Linked DNA regions of Homo sapiens: all the other regions are linked to region 4. The links are contacts of gene promoters, found by promoter capture Hi-C in blood cells and fetal thymus (Javierre and others, 2016). All regions are on one chromosome and are shown on one strand. Each heading gives the region's core, a stretch centred on a gene start or on the middle of the fragment in contact. The rest is flanking DNA. Distances are from core to core; before and after follow the strand shown.

The links. Contacts are between HindIII fragments. The CHiCAGO score rates a contact against its expected background, and 5 or more counts as called.
Region 1: the fragment with the promoter of ADRB1 here is called in contact with the fragment with the promoter of FHIP2A in region 4 in 4 of 17 cell types (activated CD4 T cells, neutrophils, naive CD8 T cells and 1 more); the score reaches 10.2 in activated CD4 T cells.
Region 2: a contact is called between the fragment with the promoter of VWA2 here and the fragment with the promoter of FHIP2A in region 4, in 11 of 17 cell types (M2 macrophages, fetal thymus, total CD4 T cells and 8 more). The highest score is 12.9, in M2 macrophages.
Region 3: a contact is called between the fragment with the promoter of DCLRE1A here and the fragment with the promoter of FHIP2A in region 4, in 9 of 17 cell types (total CD4 T cells, activated CD4 T cells, naive CD4 T cells and 6 more). The highest score is 12.8, in total CD4 T cells.

Annotation. Positions count from the first base shown.
Region 1 is chr10:114,041,609-114,045,285 of GRCh38, forward strand. ADRB1 (adrenoceptor beta 1) reads left to right here and starts at 2,258. Exons shown (of 1, transcript NM_000684.3): 1 at 2,258-3,677. The coding sequence starts at 2,525. RefSeq lists an enhancer at 1,626-1,675 and silencers at 1,946-2,225, 2,296-2,355. The HindIII fragment of the contact is 8,909 bases long and covers 1-3,677 here.
Region 2 is chr10:114,237,447-114,241,432 of GRCh38, forward strand. VWA2 (von Willebrand factor A domain containing 2) reads left to right here and starts at 1,808. Exons shown (of 14, transcript NM_001272046.2): 1 at 1,808-2,123. RefSeq lists an enhancer at 1,719-2,427. The HindIII fragment of the contact is 4,541 bases long and covers 1-3,986 here.
Region 3 is chr10:113,851,550-113,855,532 of GRCh38, forward strand. It overlaps DCLRE1A (DNA cross-link repair 1A), which reads right to left and starts at 2,533. Exons shown (of 9, transcript NM_014881.5): 1 at 1,174-2,533. The coding sequence starts at 1,633. NHLRC2 (NHL repeat containing 2) reads left to right here and starts at 3,112. Exons shown (of 11, transcript NM_198514.4): 1 at 3,112-3,501. The coding sequence starts at 3,324. RefSeq lists enhancers at 86-305, 3,592-3,983 and a silencer at 3,222-3,581. The HindIII fragment of the contact is 6,407 bases long and covers 1-3,983 here.
Region 4 is chr10:114,819,788-114,823,410 of GRCh38, forward strand. It overlaps FHIP2A (FHF complex subunit HOOK interacting protein 2A), which reads left to right and starts at 1,993. Exons shown (of 17, transcript NM_020940.4): 1 at 1,993-2,336. The coding sequence starts at 2,292. It overlaps LOC124902508 (translation initiation factor IF-2-like), which reads right to left and starts at 3,161. Exons shown (of 2, transcript XM_047426127.1): 1 at 1,486-3,161. The coding sequence starts at 2,314. The coding sequence ends at 1,709. RefSeq lists silencers at 1,742-2,051, 2,062-2,411, 2,472-2,691 and an enhancer at 2,397-2,897. The HindIII fragment of the contact is 9,749 bases long and covers 1-3,623 here.

The sequences.
Region 1 (3,677 bases), core at 1,008-3,507, 780 kb before region 4:
CCAACATGGTAAAACGCCATCTCCACTAAAAATACAAAATTAGCCGTGTGTGGCGGCACACGCCTGTAATCCCAGCTACTTGACAGGCTGAGGCAGGAGAATCACTTGAACCCGGGAGGCAGAGGTTGCAGTGGGCCAAGATCACGCCACTGAACTCCAGCCTGGGCAACAAAAGTGAAACTCTGTCTCAAAAAAATAAAAAGAAAGAAGCCAGGAGTCTCAGGCTTTCAGTGACTTGGATAACTTGGGGTGTAGTCTCCTTCCTCCCCTTTCTAACGCCTCTTGTTTCCTGGCCACTCCTCCTCAACCTCCCCAAGTTGGAAAATCAGCTGATAAATCATGGGCAGGGGGTGAATAAACAAATCACTCCCCAGTTTTAACATACTGATGCTGAGGTTTGGGCCTAAAGCAAATTCATATGTTTGCATTTATGTAAGAGAAAGTGGTTAAAACTGCTTGATTTTATATAAACTTGAAAAACATTACTTTTTGCTTTTGACCTGGACAGCTGTGGAAGTCGGTCTCTCCTTGCAAGGTAAGGATATGAGCTTGGTCATATTGATGACCATCAACGAACATGATGTTCGTTACGGGCGCTGTTCTTATTCCAATGCTAGAAGGACCTGTGAGCATTATATAACATTTTCATGCACCCTTACATAAACAATTAGAAGCTGTTTACTCCTCAAGGACTCAATTAGAGATTTTTTTAATTTTTTTATTTTTTTTTTTATTTCAGGCCTGAGCTGAGGACACTACAGGAGCCAAATTAGAGAAGGGGCTTGCAGTCCTGCCATATTGCATATTCATGGCTTTCTTGTCCCCTCACCCCCAGTATAATCCTTTTTGCCAGGTTAACAACTCACTAATTTCAAAGCAATTCATTTGCCAACTCAAAAAAAAAAAAAAAAAAAACCACAGATACAACTTTAAATGCTTTTGGATTTTAATCCTCTGGAGTATTTATATGTTTTCTTGTCTCATCCCTTCAAAACTAATCTCAGAGTTTTGAGAATCTGGGAACTTGGGCAAAGGAGAAAACAAGCACGCAGACCAAGGAATCTGAAATCGCAGTTCATTACGTCAGCATAAACTGACAGTACCTTTTTGTTTGTATTGACCCAGCTCAAATTATAAAATCACATGAGTAATAAAACACAAAATACAGGTGTTATCATTGAAAAGTCTAAAATGTAATTAAACGCGTTTTTTCCCCCTCGCGGTGGTATCGTTTACTCTGTATCTCAACGTTTCTGTCTCCCTAAGCCTCTCCTTTCATATCATGAGCATACATTTTTGCATCATGCTCACACGTTCATTAGCTAGGACTGAGGAGTGTGTACGATTCCAAAGGGCCCTCAGCGTTAGCTGTTAGATGCACAAACCTTCGCTTCCTTTCCACATCTACTGCACTCGAGGTTCAACAGAGGATCCTTGCAAGAACAGCGCCCAGAGAGCATTCTTGACAGATGCGCGCTTGGCTCCAGCAACCCGCTCTGCTGGGAAGTTTCTTCTAACCACTAACACCCACCTCCAATCCCCCAAGCTGTCACGACGCATGCTGGCTGGGTCCCGTCTTGACGGGGGAAGGGTTTTACACACACCCTGCTAGGCTGCCCCACATCACAACCAAGCTCGCAGGGCAAACTCCTCCAAGCCTGGCGGACAAGCTGTCCCAGGCGCTCTGGCGCTTCCTGAACACCAAGGTCCCCTCCCCGCTCAAGGGAGCTAGCGCTCTGTTCCGCAGAGAACCCCGGAACTGCAGGTCGAGGGGATGCGGGGGGAGCGGGGGCGCAGGAGGGAGCCGAGTGCTGGAGGCAAACGGGGCGCAGGAGCGGGTGCGGGAGGCAAACGGGGCGCAGGAGCGGGTGCGGGAGGCAAACGGGGCGCAGGAGTGGGTGCGGGAGCGAGTGGGGGCTGAGGGAGGGGACGGGGCCCCGGGGGGAGCCAGGCGCGGAAGGGGGCGCGGGGGAACAGGGACCAGGAACCAGCGGGCGCAGGAAGGGGTGCGTCCGCAGGAACCCGCGGGCGCACGGGAGGCACTAGCTACGCGATCAGCTCGGGACTCTCAGGAGCCGCTCAATTGCCAACGGGAGGGGGGTGCGGGGAGTTGGAGGTGGGGGTGCAGACCAGACGGGGGCGTGCCTTTGCCCGGATTGGCTGCAGGAGCCTGACGCGAGGCCCCGGGGGTTGGCTTGGGGAGTGGGAGCGGGGTGGGGTGGGTGCTGGGTGCCGGAGCTGCGGGCCCGGCGCGCTCAGAAACATGCTGAAGTCCCGGCGGCTCTTCCAGCAGCGGCAGCGGCTCCAGCAGCAGCGGCGGCGGCGGCGGCGGCGGCAGCGGCAGCGACAGCGCTCGGCTCCTGCGGGAAAGGCGCCCGGCGCCCATGCCTCCGGCCCCGCGCCGCGGCTGCCCTGACCCGGCCGCGACCTCCCTCTGCGCACCACGCCGCCCGGGCTTCTGGGGTGTTCCCCAACCACGGCCCAGCCCTGCCACACCCCCCGCCCCCGGCCTCCGCAGCTCGGCATGGGCGCGGGGGTGCTCGTCCTGGGCGCCTCCGAGCCCGGTAACCTGTCGTCGGCCGCACCGCTCCCCGACGGCGCGGCCACCGCGGCGCGGCTGCTGGTGCCCGCGTCGCCGCCCGCCTCGTTGCTGCCTCCCGCCAGCGAAAGCCCCGAGCCGCTGTCTCAGCAGTGGACAGCGGGCATGGGTCTGCTGATGGCGCTCATCGTGCTGCTCATCGTGGCGGGCAATGTGCTGGTGATCGTGGCCATCGCCAAGACGCCGCGGCTGCAGACGCTCACCAACCTCTTCATCATGTCCCTGGCCAGCGCCGACCTGGTCATGGGGCTGCTGGTGGTGCCGTTCGGGGCCACCATCGTGGTGTGGGGCCGCTGGGAGTACGGCTCCTTCTTCTGCGAGCTGTGGACCTCAGTGGACGTGCTGTGCGTGACGGCCAGCATCGAGACCCTGTGTGTCATTGCCCTGGACCGCTACCTCGCCATCACCTCGCCCTTCCGCTACCAGAGCCTGCTGACGCGCGCGCGGGCGCGGGGCCTCGTGTGCACCGTGTGGGCCATCTCGGCCCTGGTGTCCTTCCTGCCCATCCTCATGCACTGGTGGCGGGCGGAGAGCGACGAGGCGCGCCGCTGCTACAACGACCCCAAGTGCTGCGACTTCGTCACCAACCGGGCCTACGCCATCGCCTCGTCCGTAGTCTCCTTCTACGTGCCCCTGTGCATCATGGCCTTCGTGTACCTGCGGGTGTTCCGCGAGGCCCAGAAGCAGGTGAAGAAGATCGACAGCTGCGAGCGCCGTTTCCTCGGCGGCCCAGCGCGGCCGCCCTCGCCCTCGCCCTCGCCCGTCCCCGCGCCCGCGCCGCCGCCCGGACCCCCGCGCCCCGCCGCCGCCGCCGCCACCGCCCCGCTGGCCAACGGGCGTGCGGGTAAGCGGCGGCCCTCGCGCCTCGTGGCCCTGCGCGAGCAGAAGGCGCTCAAGACGCTGGGCATCATCATGGGCGTCTTCACGCTCTGCTGGCTGCCCTTCTTCCTGGCCAACGTGGTGAAGGCCTTCCACCGCGAGCTGGTGCCCGACCGCCTCTTCGTCTTCTTCAACTGGCTGGGCTACGCCAACTCGGCCTTCAACCCCATCATCTACTGCCGCAGCCCCGACTTCCGCA
Region 2 (3,986 bases), core at 558-3,057, 580 kb before region 4:
GGTCAAAGTATGCTGGTACCTGTTAAACAGCATAAGGGGTACAGGGAGAGGGTTGTCAAAGGTAGAATTTCCACTTTCTTGAGGACCTGGGGTCTGCCCTTGTTGGACATCTCTGGAGCAGCACAGGCCACTCACCCCATTTGACTATACAGCACTTAAAAATGTGGCGAGTCCAAATTGAGATGTGCTTGTGAGTATAGAATACAACAGGATTGGCCAGGCGTGGTGGCTCACGCCTATGATCCCAGCATTTTGGGAGGCTGAGGCGGGTGGATTACCTGAGGTCAGGAGTTTGAGACCAGCCTGGCCAACATGGCAAAACCCTGTCTTTACTAAAAATACAAAAATTAGCCGGGCATGGTGGTGTGCACCTGTGATCCCAGCTACTCGGGAGGCTGAGGCAGGAGAACCATTTGAACCTGGGAGGCAGAGGTTGCAGTGAGCCAAGATCATGCCATTGCACTCCAGCCTGGGCAACAGAGTGAGACTCTGTCTCAAACAAAAAAAAAAAAAAAAAAAACAAAAAAACAGGACTTTGAAGACAGCATAAAACATCTTTATTGATTACATGTTGAGATAATGTTCCGGATGTTTAGGTTAATACTGAAATCCAGCTTGCTGTTTCTTTTCACTTTTTATTAAATGTGACCACTAGAACATTTAAAATTACACACGTGGCTTGGTCAGTATTTCTCTGGGGCAATGCTGATCTAGAGGCAGAGACCATCCCTCCCCAGCAGTTAGACCTCAAGACTAACTGCTGTCCCCTGTGGGGATGATGTGGTGGTACATTATGTCTGCTGCTCTGGTGTGGCCCTGTTTTTATTTTTGGGTGCTCAGTAAATGTTACTGGGAGAAATGAATTACAGGAAAAATGAGTCCTTTCCTAGCCTCCTTCAATGAGGTTTGCAACATTAAAGTCACCACGGGCCACTTTCACTGGAAGCTGTCAGTGTCGGAGGTTTGGAAATTAACTGAGAACTACAGACAGGAAAGGTGTAAAGCAAATTATTTTCCTATCAGATTGACATTTACAAGAATAATGGGAAGGAGCATGGAAAAGAGGAAGCAGGTCAACCTTCCTTGAGGACAATTAGATAATAGGCATCAAAAGTCTTAAGTTGTATAAAACCTGTATCCTAGAAATTTACCTTTTCGTAGTTTATTCTAAGGAATTAATTGGACAAAAGCACAAAGACATCTAATTGTATTATTAAAATGGAAAGTTTAATATTCAACAATAGCAGATAGGTTAAGTACATTAGGACATTATGAAGTGGCTTAAAACGGACATTCAAAAAAAGGAAATGGAAAACCTGAGTAATGTACAGCTTGTATGGAATGAACTAAAAATATATAAATTTTTGCATAGGTAGAATGACATTGGAAGAACATACACCACAATGTTAACTGATTATCTCTGGGTGTTGGAAAATGATTGATTTATCAACTTTTTTACTGTTATTTCTTTTCTTTTTTTTTTTTTTGCAATGAACAGGCATGCTCTGGCAGTTTTTAAATGAAGTATGGAAATTATGGATTGTGCAGTCATAGTCAACGTTCATTGAGAGCTTACTTTATATAAAGCATCATGCTCAGCATTGTGCTTTGTGGCATTTGATTTTTTAAAAATCAAACGCCCTCCAATCTTAAGCAAGGATGATGGCCAAAAGGTCGGCTTATTACCCAACTGCAACAATAGGAGGGACAGGTAATTAAAAGGCAATTGCCATGACAAATAGAAAAGATGCCAAAGTCAACATTTTTTCAAGGAGCTATAAAGCCCGTGGAGGAGTCAGCTGACGGCACAGTGTTCGCGGCTGCACCGCTCGGAGGCTGGGTGACCCGCGTAGAAGTGAAGTACTTTTTTATTTGCAGACCTGGGCCGATGCCGCTTTAAAAAACGCGAGGGGCTCTATGCACCTCCCTGGCGGTAGTTCCTCCGACCTCAGCCGGGTCGGGTCGTGCCGCCCTCTCCCAGGAGAGACAAACAGGTGTCCCACGTGGCAGCCGCGCCCCGGGCGCCCCTCCTGTGATCCCGTAGCGCCCCCTGGCCCGAGCCGCGCCCGGGTCTGTGAGTAGAGCCGCCCGGGCACCGAGCGCTGGTCGCCGCTCTCCTTCCGGTGAGTCCCAGCCCCGAGTTGGCTCTGGCGCCCGGGTACCCGCCAGTGCCGGCTGCCGATGACCGATTCACGCTCCCGGTACTGGGGCCCCCTCTGCCCAGCCACCCCTACCCAGAGCACCCGGGCTGCGCGGCCCCGCCGAGGGTGCGGGCTTTGTTCGCATTGTCTGCGCGCACCTGAGCGCGGCCTTCCTGGCACGGCGGCGTCGGGGGAAGAGCGCACCTGGCGCGCGCCTCCCTCGTGGCCACTCGCGGTCCGTCCCGGGCGAGCTGGCGGGGTTTTGGGAGGGGTGCGGTCAGCAGGTAAGTGGGTAGGGGCTCCGGGTACAGGGGTGGAGGAGGGCATGTATTAAACCCAAGCTGCCCTCCTGGCACAGTAGCGGGGCCCCCTTCCCTGGCGGCCGCGGAAAGGGACTCGCCCTTTGAATAAAGGCTTTGGTGACATGCTCGCTTCCACCCCACACCCCACTACAGGACATACACAGGTGTTAAGGGGACTTGGGGCAGTTTTCCCAGGCAGAACGAGTGCCCCCAGCGAAGTGTCTGCAAGCAGAACCTGAGAGGGGCCGGCTGCCCCGAGAGTCCTCGCGCTTGGGCAGTGGGAAGTCCAGGGGTTTGTCGTTCTGGTGACTTCCCCCACCTGGCTCAGCCCTGCTTCCTGCATGTCTCCTTCCCTTCCAATAAGGCTAACAAAACTTTCCCTAGCTAAGCCGACCTTTCCCTCCCGCCTTGGGCCCTTGGCCACCTGCTGGGACGGTGAATGGGAGAGTCTCAGAATTGAACCTTGAAAACTTGCTGGGGGCACCAGACAGAAGAGAAGGGAGGAGGGCACCTTGCTGCTTGTGATTGTGGAATCAAGGGCTCCAGCTGAAGCTGAAAGGGGACTTAGCAATGGGGACCTCATGCCATGTGTTTGATGTCTTGGAGATTGGAATAATTAGAACGTGTACATTTTTCAAATTACAAGCTGCTTTAAGTAAAACCCCAGAACCTCTAAGTGTTTTATAAATTCAGTCCCAAAAATTCAAGGTCTCTTTTGCTGTTAAGGTGACACTATATTAAGAAATGTCGATTTATTGAAGAGTCAGAGAAGTGAAGAGGTCAGAAAGGTACCACTAGAGTTGGCAAAAGCCACAGGCATGAATTTGTAAATGCTGCTGGCTTTCAGCAGGCTGAAGCCATCCTCTCTTGTGACTGATGGGGGTTCAGAGCTCCTCAGGCCTTACTCTTCTTTTGTAAAATCCAGCCCAGAGCCATCTCCTAGTAGTGTAAGAATTTCTCAGACTAGGTCCCCAGGCAAATCCCAGGTTGGAGAAGAGGATTGCTTTCCTCATCATCTCTGGCTGAAAACCATCAGTGTATTTTCATTAAATCTGGTTTTTGGTCTACCGTACAGAGATTACAGCCAGTATTTCCCCTCTCTTCAATAGGCACAAGCCCCTGGGATATCCGAATCATAGTCAGAAGCCCATGTTTTTACAGATGAGGAAACTGAGACCCAGTTTTAGAGTGTTAGGTTCAAAGCAAAATTGAGCAGAAGGTACAGGTTTCCCATATACCTCCTGTCCCCGCCTATGCACAGACTCCCCCATTGTCAGCATCCCCCACTGCAGTGGTACATTTGTTCCAACTGATGAACCGACACTGGCACATCATTATGACCCAAAGTTCACAGTTTGCCCTGGGGTTTGCTCCTGTTGTACATTCTATGGCTTTGGACAAATGTAAAATGACATAAATCTGCCATTATAGTATCAAACAGCATAGTTTCACTACCGTAAAAATCTTCTGTGCATCCCACCCTCCCTACAACACATGGTAATCACTGATCTTTCTACTGTCTCAATAGTTTTACCTTTTCCAG
Region 3 (3,983 bases), core at 1,283-3,782, 970 kb before region 4:
AAATACTTATTACATATTTTAAAAGATAAAAAACATAGCATACTTTTATTATCATTTGACACGTTTTTTGTTAGAATCTTAATCACCTAGGACTCCTTCACAGTTCCTCTTCCTGTATACATAGCACGATGACTAAAACATAACCATATTTAGAAACCACATTATATCTATACTTTTTTTTTTTTTTTTCAGACAAGGTCTCCCTCTGTCGCCCCACCCAGGCTGGAGTGCCCTGGCATGATCACAGGGCCCTACAGCCTCGACCTCTTGGGCTCAGGTGATCCTCCCACCTCAGCCTTCCAAGTAGCCCACCACACCTGGCTAATTTTTGGTAATTTTTTTTGTAAAGATGGGGTTTCACCATGTTGCACAGGCTGGTCTTGAATTCCTAGGCTCAAGTGATCCGCCTGCCTCCACCTCCCAAAGTACTGGGATTACTGGCATGAGCCACTGTGCCCAGCCTATTTATAATTTTCTATGGAGTTCCATAATAACCACCAACTGGGGCCGGGCGCGGTGGTTCATGCCTGTAATACCAGCACTTTGGGAGGCCGAGGCGGGCAGATCACGAGGTCAGGAGATCGAGACCATCCTGGCTAACACGGCGAAACCCCGTCTCTACTAAAAATACAAAAAATTAGCCGGGTGCGGTGGCGGGCGCCTGTAGTCCCGGCTACTCGGGAAGCTGAGGCAGGAGAATGGCATGAACCTAGGAAGCGGAGCTTGCAGTGAGCCAAGATAGCGCCACTGCACTCCAATCTGGGCAACAGAGAGAGACTCCGTCTCAAAAAAATAAATAACCAATTGGACAAGTTATCTGACTTTTAAGAACTTTCATCTATAAAATGTCAATACTAGCTACCTTATATGGTGATTGTGAAAGTTGGGTAAGTAGACAGTGTGAAAGTACCCAGCATAGTAAGGATTCAGTTAACATTTATGGAAAATAATCCAGATACTTAGGAACTTTTATGAAATAACACAATGTATTTAAACTGTTTTCTAGTCTGCCATTTGCTTTACAATTATACCGTTGACTGGTATGGTGTTTCCCAGTGTCTCATCTCTCTTTTAGGTTACTGCTTGCCTTCCTTGTTTCACTGAATTGGTATGTCTGACCTAATGAAGACTTTTTAGATTATTTAGAAACTACTACGTTTTCTGCAGTCTTACCTGTTTCAGAGCGTGGTGGAGAATCCAAACATTCAAAAACATGCCATCGAGGTGTCTGCCCTATCAATGAGGAAAAAGGCATCTGGCAATTTGGACAGTATCCATCATAAACTGGACGTATCTTTGGGGACACGTGTTGGCTTTTTTGAGTTCTACAGAGTTTTCCTGGAGTAGTTTCCTTGTCTTGGGTCTGCTGAATACCATCTCCACAACTTGAATTCTGACTAGAAGCAACAGAAGTCTGACAACCTGCATTTCCAAGGGGCACTTCATGGTCCTTCACCTCTTTAGCTTCTGCGGCTCTTTTTCTGTTTCTACTCCGTTTTGACTGGTATTTTCCATCTGTTGCTTTTTCAACAGATTTTAGAATATTTTTAGAGCCATTATTTGGATCAACTCGTTTTGGTTTTCTTTTAGATTTGTATTCCCAAATGTCTTCTTCGGAAATGTCTTCTAACATGGCAAAATGATTTTATCATTCAAGAAGTATTAATCTTAAGTAAACTGAAAGTCCATTTCTTGTCACAAACAAAAAGTTATAGAATTATTTTGCTGAGAAAAAAAACAAAGGTAACAAAACCCCCACCAACTCAATGGGAATCTGCAGTGTTGGTAATGAACATATTGGCAAGCTACAAACCTTGTACCTGACAACACCTGCTATTCCATTTATACCACAATGAAACTAAGATAAACCTATCACAGGAGTAGCAACTGTGAAGTTCTCCATTATGGGTGCTATTTCATTCAAATATCTTGTCCTTTTCCAGGGCTTGATTCATAAAAATAATACTTCAAAAATTAAGCGCTAATGGCAAATATAGGTTCAACAGCTTAATCTTAGAACGAGATTTGTAACATTGTTATGAAGCTACTGTCAGTTCTTTCAAGTGGACAACCGTCCAAATAATTCATAAATCCAACCACAGTCCCTGGACAAAGGGCTTAACAGGTATCCCAAACACTAAATGACTATCTAACAAAACTAGTCACAACATAATCAAAGAGATGTGTAATTCGCAAAAAACTGCGAAGTCACTGCCCTCATCCACGACTAGTGGATACTCAACCACTTCAGTTTCCCGCGACAGTCCATGATCTTCCTCCAGCAGCAATGAACAATCCCTGCACAGTGAACAAAAAAAGTTGATATGTGAAAAAAGTTCAAATATGTGAAAGAGTGGGCTTGTATTGAGGTCTGACTCCGTATTGCACCCATGGTTCCGAAGGTGGCCAGCCCTCTGTCCACCTGACTCAAAACGGGGTCACACGCCAGCCTCTCCCTTATCTTTTGGCATTAGAGGCTGGGAGGCCAGGAAGCGGGGCCTTAATCATCTCCAGGTTAAGCATAGCGAGCTCCAAAAAGCCCTCAGAGTCCTGCCCTTCTGAAGACTCTAAGGCCCGCCCTCAAGGACCCTCACCGCCCCCCACCTGCCACTCGGCACCCCAAGGGAGCCGCTCCAGCTGCATCCGCTCCTCCCGGCACCCCCATCTAAAAATGTGTTCGCGCCCGCACTTTCAGCACTCCCAGATGACAAAACGCTGTGTTTGTGTATAAGTGAAAGCCACTCGCGCCAGTCACTTCCAGTTTACAAAGCCTTCTCTCTGGAGGTTATCCCTACCCGCTTTACCTTTAGGGTCTTGGCGGGAACAAGTTCCCGCTGCCAGTGCCGTGTCGAATCGGCGGATGCTGTTCAAAGAGAGAGACTTTAAAAATAATTTTTAAAAATACATTGCCCTTTTAAGTCCTACGGATTTATTGTATTTTATTTGTGTTCGAAAGTCCGCTAATTCCCAATGTGGAGGGTTGGGGATGTTTCCCTTAGCGCCTCTGGGACGCTGTCCCTAAGGCCTTATTCCATGTTGAATCTGACGCTCTCAATGTCCAGGCTCGGCTGCGGCGTGGGGACCGAAAAGGGGCGGGGTGGGTCGGACGGCAGTTTAATTACGTCCCCGGGAACTGCGCCGATTTGGACTTTTGGCACTTGGACCTATGCTTTAAAAAGAAAAAAGTGTCATTGGCGTGGAGTGGGGCTAGTGGAGGGTGAGGTGAATGCGCCGTTTGGAAACCACAGGACAGTGAACGTTTCGTCTCTCCCAGCGAGACTCTCCCGCGGGCCCGGCGGCCGCATCGGGAGCCCGGCGGAAACATGGCGGCGCCCGGAGGCCGGGGCCGCAGCCTCTCCGGCCTGCTCCCCGCGCAGACCTCGCTAGAGTACGCCCTGCTCGACGCCGTTACCCAGCAGGAGAAGGACAGCCTGGTCTACCAGTATCTGCAGAAGGTGGACGGCTGGGAGCAGGACTTGTCAGTACCCGAGTTTCCGGAAGGTGAGGGGCTGGCGTCGGGGTGGGGGCCCCTCCCGGCACCTCCCCTTCCTCGGGGACGGCGCCCTCCCGCGAAGCGGTGGGCTAGGCGGGTTTGTGCCGCTGGCGCCCCGGGGAGTGGCCCTTCGCCTAACTTGGGCCGCTGTTCGCGTGTTCTGCAATTCCCAGGGGTCCCCAAGCGGCCACCGACGGGGGTTTCCCTGGCACGGGGATCCACATACTCGTCTGTGTATCCTGAGTTCCGCCCGCGCCTGATATTAGCCAAGTGGACACTCCGTGAATATTTAGTGTCCCCGGTGGCAATGATTGCAACGTCCACACCATTCTGTCCATTCAATCTGGTTCCCCAGTGTCTTCTGGTCATCTTTCTGCATCATCTTGACATTTATTGATCACTTTTTCATGTATCACACACAGGGTTTTTTTTTGTTTTTTTTTGATACGGAGTCTCGCTCTGTCTCCCAGGCTGGAGTACAGTGGCGTGA
Region 4 (3,623 bases), core at 743-3,242:
AAACTAATTATGGTTAATAATATGACTAACCATCTTAAACTGTGTATGAATATAATAACAATAAGCATACATACATGCTCTCAGTTGAAGCAGACACGGCCAGAATTTGGTAAGGGGCACAAAACAACAGAGGATGCCTCCAGCATTCTGGGGGTAGTACGTAGAAAATTAAGGTCGTATTTATCTGCCAAGGAGCACCGCAGGGATATAAACCACAAAAACAGGAGGGAAAAGAAGCCCAGTTAAGATCTCCTCCTTAATTCCTGATTTCTGGCCCTATTATTTTGCTAAATACCACTACCACAACTCAGAACAAGTATAAGTGTCTGTGCATCTCTTACTAGGGACTGGGCACTGTTAAAGTGTTTTACATATATTAATTAATTCCCACAACAACCTCAAGAGGTAGGTACTGTTCTCCCCTTTTGACATATAAGCAAATTAAAACACAAAGAAGTTAAATAACTTTCCACTGTGGGTGGCAGAGCTGGGACTTAGGCTACCCAGCCCCAGAGCCTGGCCAGTTACCACCACTCCATATGACAGCCACCTTTTCTCTGTTCCATGAATCAATTACAGATATATATACGTGTGTGTGTGTATACATGTATATATACGTATGTGTATATATACGTTTGTGTATGTATAAACGTATGTGTGTGTATACATGTATGTGTGTGTGTGTGTGTGTGTGTGTGTGTGTGTGTGTGTATTTTTTTTTTTTTTTTTGAGATGGAGTTTTGCTCTTGTTGTCCAGGCTGGAGCGCAATGGCGCAACCTTGGCTCACTGCAACTTCCGCCTCCCGAGTTCAAGGATTCTCCTGCCTCAGCCTCCCAAGTAGCTGGGATTACAAGCATGTAATCCCATTACACCACCACGTTCGGCTAATTTTTTTTTTTTTTTTTTTTTTGTATTTTTAATAGAGACGGAGTTTCACCATGTTGGCCAGGCTGGTCTCGAACTCCTGGCCTCAAGTGATCCTCCCGCCTTTGCCTCCCAGAGTGCTGAGATTACAGGCGTGAGCCACCGCGCCTGGGCCAGATACGTATTTTCAGCACTGGTTGTGCAAAACTCACTCCCCACCTCATCTTAAGAACTTAATGAACCTTTTGGTAAAACGCCAATACCAGCATAAAACAAATTTCTTCAGGATACAAATATTTTCATAATTTGTATTAACTCAACCTAAACTTTACCAGCCTGAACTGCTTCTTCAAGGCTTGACTAATACACTGTTAGGGAGTATTTTAAGCAGCCTCCACCCAAGTGCTTACCTTGTAGCTCTATTTATCTGCCTTAGGCATTTACTGGACTCCTTTCAGATTCTTTCCCTCGCTAATGTTTTCCGGTATCATCTGATAACTGAATAGAAAATGCTGTTCTGAATCACTACACCTCACTATCAACCATATCACAAATAAATTATGTTATATATTATATATAAATATTATAATGGGCTATTTAAACTAAGCCAGCCGTCTTACCATGTGCTCATGTGGGATTTCCTGTTTCAATGTTGAATAATAATATATTTTAAAGTTAGCAAAGCCATTTCACCTGCAGTCGTTGATTTCTTCAAAATCTGAGCATTTAAATCCATTGCCAATGTTTGCTTAAAGAACACTGTTTTCTTAACGAGTCTTCCAAATCGGTCCTTACAGGAAGAACCTCTGAATGCTATACGCATATATGGACGGCTGCGTGTCCCTACAAAGTCAGCCTGTTACTTCCACTGGAGAAACAAAACTCTTGAGAATCGCTGAGCTGTAAAAATGTTAGAAAGCCGGTGTCCCAGGCGCCCTGAGAAAGCCGGGAGAGGGCGGTGGCTGCCCACAGGCCGCCTCCAGCCCCGCGCGAGGCCGAGGCCTCAGCGCGCCCCCCGCCCCCGCGGCGCCTAGCGGCCCCGCCGCAGGGCAGGCCTGGCCGGGCCTCCCCGGGCTGCGGCGGCGCCCCCTGCAGGCCGCGGCGGGCAGAGCGGGGGGAAGGAACCCGAGCCGGGCTGCCACCGTGTCCCAACCGGTGCCGCCGCCGGAGCTTCTCCGGGCCCCGAGTCCTCGCCGAACGCCCTCCTCGCCGCCCGCCGCGTCCCGGCGCCCTCCGGAGCCGCCGAGCCGCCCGCGCACACCTGAAGCGGCCGGGCCAGGCCCTGCCTCGATCCTCAGCTCGTCCTCCCCGCCCCGCACCGGCCTTCACTCTGGAGCGGCCCCGGCAGCCGCAGCAGGGGCGGCGGCGGCGGATCGAGGAGCTCTCCAGGTCGTCCCGGGAGAGGCTGCTGCAGTCCCGGGACAGGATGTTCTCCAAGTTCACCTCCATCCTGCAGCACGCCGTGGAGGCGGTAAGGCCGCGGGCTGCGGGCGCACGGCAGGCCGGGGATGGCGGCGGCCTACGCTCCCCGGCGGCCTCGGGGACAAGCCGGGCGGCCTTGGCCCGGCCCTCGGCGGCCCTGTCCCCGGTTGGGGTGAGGCCCCAGGCGGGCGCCCTGGGCGGCCGCCGGGTCGTGGGGGCGCCCGGGGCCTCGGGCCTGGCTCTGCGGGGGTCCCGTCGGTCCCTGGCTGCCCCAGGCCGGCAGTCCCTGCCCTCCTCCAGGAGCCGGGGCGGGGGTGCCGGGGAGGACCTGGCCGCCCAACGCCGCTCGGTGGTCGCCTCATTCCTCTGATGGGGCCGGGGGTTCGGGGAGCACCTGGCGGGGTCGCAGAGAGCTCCCCCGGGCTCCCTTAACGTTAACCTTCTCCGGAAAAAAAGTGGTCAGCGTTGAGCAAGACAAAAGAAACGAGCAAGCACCGCTTGGGCTTGGTTCTGTTTTGTTTTGGTTTTCGGGGGTAGAGGTGGGAGAGGCATGGTCTCGCTGTGGGGCGTCCCTGGCGAGGGAGCCGCCGACCAGCCCCCGGGTTGCTGGCTTTTGCTTTCTTGGGCCTGGAGGCCGAACTCAGCTGAACCTTATGTATTGATCTGAAATAGGAGTTTGGAGGGTCCAGTCGAGTTTGCTTTCGACAGCTTCCAAGCTCACCGAGCCCAGAGACCATCTGTTTCCTTTCTTGTCTAGTTCTCTTCCTGGACACTCTTCGTTTATCCTGCAATTGTACTCTCCTTTGAGGGTTTTAGACACCAGCATAGAGACAGTATTCAAGTATCCTAGTAGACTAATAAGTGAAAAGAAACTAAAAAGAAAATGCCTTGTCACTGTTCTAGTAAGAATGCTAGTTGCTTCACTTGTTTACTTTATTCTGGGAGAACTGCCCAAATTGAAAAATGCATTCTGTGCAGAAACAATTACTTTGCTAATTTTTAACATGACATTCTCTTCCTATGTTCATATTATGTGATAGGACACTTTAAAATGTACACTTTAAAAATGTCAGATACAACAATGATTTTTTATGGGCAGGCAAAAATGGAGTTTTTGCCTTCAGTAATAAAAACAAACTTTAGTACAATTGTTATTTAAGTGATACATGAGAAGCGTTAAAAAATTTAGCTCTAGGGCAAGCTCTTGGGAAAATGTATCAAACAGGAAAAACAGGGTTTCATAAATGTAGAGCAGTATTACACGGAGGGAAATGACAGTGGTAGACTTCAAGACAACTTTTAGTTTTTACTTGCTTATACACACTCTACTTTTGTT